Linked DNA regions of Homo sapiens: region 2 is linked to region 1. The links are contacts of gene promoters, found by promoter capture Hi-C in human tissues and cell types (Jung and others, 2019). All regions are on one chromosome and are shown on one strand. The core of a region is centred on a gene start or on the middle of the fragment in contact, and the rest is flanking DNA. Distances in the headings are between cores, read along the strand shown. Region 1 holds the start of SLITRK5 (SLIT and NTRK like family member 5). Region 2 holds the start of LOC124903229 (NADH-ubiquinone oxidoreductase chain 5-like).

Region 1 (2,700 bases), core at 29-2,528:
ATGTTTATATAATGTTAAAAGTTAATGACTGAATAAAAAATACAGAAATAAGCCTTTTGTGGATGACGTGTAAGTTATATTTGTTGATGCAATGTATCTACAGCTAGTGGCTATCATTCCTAGGTCAAATGCTTCTAAATTTAATGAAACGTTCATTACAAGATTTTGTTTTTATTGTCTGAAATTACATATTACTTCTTTCCTTCCTCTCCCTTGAATATAACCCATACTTAAACAAAATTGCTTCCAAATAAAGTTTTTATGGTATAAAGTAAAAATATATATATTCACACAACATACGCAGGGGAAAGTTCAAAAAAGATTGCAGTACCTCAGGAGACTGCAATGTTCATCACCTGAGATATATATACATCTCAGAACATAGACATATTATCAGACTCTATATCAATATTAAACATATGATTAACCAGATTATAACACAGTATTATCCCAAATATTACTAAGAATAAAACAATATCAATAATAATTAAGACGTAATTAATTGCAAAATAAAGTGGGTAAAATATATTTACATGGAGAAACTAACTACATAGTTATCAAAGGAACAGGCACATGTGCACTCAGCCTGCACTGGGTCACTTACTATTATCAACTTTTCTCTTATACCCGGGATGAACGGCAGGTCTAATATTACAAATATTGAAAACATGTCTTATGAAAGTAAAGACCCCTTTTTGGGGATGGAAGTGTCTGGTTTCATGGAAAGACCCAAGAATACTTACTGTAGAGATGACTCTAGTGGAGTTTAGCAGATGACTCTTCAAGAAACTCGCTTTCTATCGATATTGCATTTACTTAGGGGTTTTCCAGCTTTTTAGTACACACCAGATGTATTCACAAACATTCCCTCTGAAAGTCTTTCACATTCCCTTGTGTTGCCTAGACACACCTATAAAACGTAATTCTATTAAAGAGAAAAGAAAAGTAGCGCCCTTGTTTGCAGCTAGGAGGAACCACTCCCTTTTCCAGGATCCTTAACAGTAAGTACACGAGACAGCAGCATTCTGAATGGCAGGAGGAAGGCAGGCGATCAGCACAGGGCTGGAATCATCTGTTCCTGACCACCAGCAAGCCTGGCACTGCCGGGGTTATTTCCACTCCTCCCTTTCCCAATCCGAGAATTGCACAGTCCCACGCTCGAATTACACACATGGTCCAAGACTTCTCTCTCTTCCTACGAATGTGACATCCAAGGGGGCCCCGGTTGCGCCGCCCTAGCCCAGGGACGCCTTCGCCCTCGGCTGCCATCTATCGGCCACCGAGCGCCCGCTTCGCCCCGGGCCCATCATGTCTGCTGCAGCTTGGCTCGCACCAGAGGCGCGACAATAAACAAGTGCACTGGACTGGGCCCTGCACCCGCTCCGGAGCAGCTGTCTCAGAGACCCGGTGTTGCTTACCGCGTTGCCACCTCCTCGGCGCCCGGGAGGAAGACGCAACTTTCTCGGAGTTTTTTTTAGAGCCACCGGGCTGCCAGGACAAGCCACAGGCATAGAACGACGCGGTTGCTGCCCGCCCCCCCCTTCCCCCAGAAACCCCAAAGGATGTCGGTGATAGAGAGTTCCAACTAATGACGATTGTGCGCCGCATCTGGGGAAGGGATACAGAAAAAAACCCTGCAAACACCGTGAGGATGAAACTGCCAAAGGGATGCAAGAGCCTCTCAAATACTAATTAGGGGCCGCGGCGGCGGCGGGCTCGGCGCGGAGACAGCGTCGGCGGGATCCCAGCGCGGTGGTCGCCGCTGCGCTGGGGGGCGGAGGACAGCGCAGGAGCTGCAGCCGCCGCCTTCGCTGGAGCAGCCGAGGGGCCGGTGCCACCTTTGCTCGCCCCCTCACTACCATGTACAGTGTGCGCTGCAAGAAGAAGGCGGGAGATGCATGCACACCCCCGCGACCCGCTCCCTCTGGCTCGTCCCCCGGCGTGCGCCACTGACCAGGGGGGAATGTGGTGAAGACGGCGAGGAGGAGAGCCGAGGGGGGAGGGGAGGGCCGGCCGGCGCGAACCCAGGCCGGAGGGTGCGAGGAGCCAGAGGAGGCTGGAGGGGGCGGCGGCCACAGCTGGGTCGGAGAAAGTTGCCCCCTATGCAGATGGCAACTGTGAGTACCCCTGTGGGGGGGAGGGTGCAGCGAAGGCTGCCAGGGACCCCGCGATCGCGCCTTAACACGTATTGGAGCGAGTGTGCGAGTGATCATGAGTGTGAGCGGGTGCGAGCGCTCGGCGGGGCTGACCGTCACGTTGGCGGGGCCGGCGGGGCCAGGCAGTCTTCTCCGCGTCCCCCTCCTCCCGCTCCGTGCCTCCCCTCCCAGCAGCTCCCCCTCCCCGCCCCGCCCGGCTCCGGCTCCCGGCCCCTACCGCGAGGCGCCTCTCCAGCCGGACCTCCGCCGCCCCCTCCCGCCGCCTCCCTATCCCGCCGCTGCAGAACGCCCCCCGCTCTCCACCCCCCAACCCTGCTGCCCGCTCCGACTACCGCGGAGAGCACCGGGGAGAGCCTTTTGGGGAGCCCCGGAACCCGCGGTCGCCACCGCGGCGGCGGCCCCAGGCTGGAGGCGTCCGGGCGCCTCTTTCCTCCAGCCTCTGGGACTGCGCTGCTCGCAGTCTCCTCGCCCTGCCTGGGCTTGAGAAACCTAGTGCATACCCCAAAGAGGGTTTTTGTGTATGTGTGTGTTTTTAAAGGGTGGC
Region 2 (2,700 bases), core at 125-2,624, 44 kb before region 1:
ATATATATATACACGTATATATATATATACACGTATATATATATATATATAGAGAGAGAGAGAGAGAGAGAGCACGATGGAATCTGCGTCTGCTCTGTCGTCCAGGCTGGAGTGCAGTGGCATGATCTCGGCTCACTGCAACCTCCACCTCCCATGTTCAAGCAATTCTTCTGCCTCAGCCTCCCGAGTAGCTGGGTTTACAGGTGCATGCCACCACGCCCGGTTAATTTTTGTATTTTAGTAGAGACGGGGTGTCACCAGATTGGCCAGGCTGGTCTCGAACTCCTGACTTTGTGATCCGCCTGCCTCAGCCTCCCAAAGTGCTGGGATTACAGGCGCGAGCCACTGCACCTGGCCTTTAAATATTTAGCAATATTTTTTAGCTGGATTTAAAGATTACTATGGATAAGGGACTGGGCTTCCTTTTTACTCACCCCCTTCAACGACAATTGTAATTAGCCTATGTCTGTCCAACCAATAAATTTTGGGTATGTTGAGGGAAGAGAGCTTGCCTCTTTATTTCCTATAGCTTTATTTCAAAGGAGAACTGTACTCAAGGAGACATACCCAAGGAACAGCAACTAAAGGGCATCATCCATATATATATACATAATTTAGATGATGAGATCTCAGTCGTTGATTTTCTTCCTGATGCTGTAATGGCACAAAAATCCTGGGGTTTCTTGGTGTGACTATATATTGAATGTGGGAGAAATGTAAATAATTGGGGGTCAGAAGAGAGTGTGGTCCCAAAATTATTTAATATTCCTTCCATTGAGAAATACAGTCTATGCCTCTCCCTGAAATGTGGACTCTGTACACATAATCAATAGTGTCAGATAAAAATGATGTGCCAGTTCCCAGAACAAGTATAAAAGAAACTGCTAGTTTCCACTTTCTGTCTCCTGGGAGGCTCACCTTATGTCCAGCTACCTTGTCGTCAAGCCCAGAGAGTGCAGCAGAGAAGCCTTTCTGAGGAAGTTCACGTGGAAAGGAACAGAGGCTTCTGCCCCTCAGCACCAGCTGAGTTTCTAGTCAACTGCATTAATTTGCACCCGTGGAAGAGAGATTTCTTTTTCAAGTGGAATCTCCCAGCTCCCAGTTGAGCTGATGCAGATGATGTGATGAAGCAAAGATAAGCCTTCATTTCACCAAACTGCAGATTGGTGAGCCAAAGAAAATATTGTTTTATGCCAAAAAGCTTGGGGTGGTCTGTTAAATAACAAGAACTCTAATTATCCATAATTTATTTTCTTGTAACCTTCCCAAGATTTCCCAATGAATTAAAAAACAAACAGAAGCTCAGGTTACTTACCAGAGACTAACAGGTCCTTCTTGATCTCTGGCCACATTTGCAAACTAATTTCCTTCTGCATTCACCATCTTTTACTATTCTGCAGGTCTGTAAAGTTTATGTTCTTCAAATCAATCCAATGTTCAGCAAACTCACAAGCTTTGTTTTGCTAGATTTCTCTAACTGTTTTACTTAAATTTGTTCTTCTTACAGTCCTTACCTTATACAGTGCCCACTTTTAATTAATTATTTTTTTGACAGGGTCTCACTCCGTCACCTGTGCTGGAATGCAGTGGCACAATCTTGACTCACTGTAACCTCCATCAACCAAGTTCAAGAGATCCTCCCACCTCAGCCTCTCAAGTACCTGAGACACAGGCACACGCCATCATGTCTGGCTAATTTTGGTGTATATATACACATATATACAAATATATGTATATATATGTATATATATACACATATATACATATATACACATATATATGTATACATATATGTATACATATACGTATATATGTATACACATATACACATATATATGTATACACATATACACATATATATGTATACACATATACACATATATATGTATACACATATACACATATATATGTATACACATATACACATATATATGTATACACATATACACATATATATGTATACATATATACACATATATATGTATACATATATACACATATATATGTATACATATATACACATATATATGTATACATATATACACATATATATGTATACATATATACACATATATATGTACACATATATACACACATATATACACATATATATGTACACATATATACACATATATATGTACACATATATATGTATACATATATACACATATATGTATACATATATACACATATATGTATACATATATACACATATATATGTATACATATATACACACATATATGTATACATATACACACATATATGTATACATATACACACATATATGTATACATATATACACACATATATGTGTACATATATACACACATATATGTGTACATATATACACACATATATGTGTACATATATACACATATATGTATATATGTGTATATACACATATATACGTATATATGTGTATATATATACACATATATACGTATATATGTGTATATATATACACATATATATTTTGTAGAGACAGGGTCTCACCATGTTGCTCAGGCTGGTATTGAACTCCTGGGCTCAACCAGTCTGCCCTTCTCTGCTTCCCAAAGTGCTGGGATTACATGTGTGAACCACTGCACATGACCCACTTTAAATTTTTTACAACATTTATTACTATTGCAATTAACTACATTTATTCATGTATTTGTTATCTGTCTCTACTACTGGAAGTTATCGTCTATGTACCAGGG

What was found. The method cuts DNA at HindIII sites, captures the fragments that hold promoters and counts their contacts. A contact is called where the count stands out against the background at its distance.
Region 2: a fragment that was not itself captured here is called in contact with the fragment with the promoter of SLITRK5 in region 1 in 6 of the 25 tissues and cell types used here (aorta, dorsolateral prefrontal cortex, hippocampus and 3 more).

The regions. Positions count from the first base shown.
Region 1 is chr13:87,670,093-87,672,792 of GRCh38, forward strand. SLITRK5 (SLIT and NTRK like family member 5) reads left to right here and starts at 1,279. Exons shown (of 2, transcript NM_001384609.1): 1 at 1,279-2,117. LOC124900338 (formin-like protein 5) reads right to left here and starts at 2,275. Exons shown (of 2, transcript XM_047430855.1): 1 at 744-2,275. The coding sequence starts at 2,213. The coding sequence ends at 1,689. It overlaps MIR4500HG (MIR4500 host gene), which reads right to left and starts at 871. Exons shown (of 6, transcript NR_033829.1): 1 at 744-871. RefSeq lists an enhancer at 1,006-1,507. The HindIII fragment of the contact is 26,915 bases long and covers 1-2,700 here.
Region 2 is chr13:87,625,957-87,628,656 of GRCh38, forward strand. All of the region lies in intron 1 of LOC124900338 (formin-like protein 5), which reads right to left. It overlaps LOC124903229 (NADH-ubiquinone oxidoreductase chain 5-like), which reads right to left and starts at 2,462. Exons shown (of 3, transcript XM_047430846.1): 1 at 2,026-2,462; 2 at 1,724-1,957. The coding sequence starts at 2,462. All of the region lies in intron 1 of MIR4500HG (MIR4500 host gene), which reads right to left. The HindIII fragment of the contact is 5,299 bases long and covers 1-2,700 here.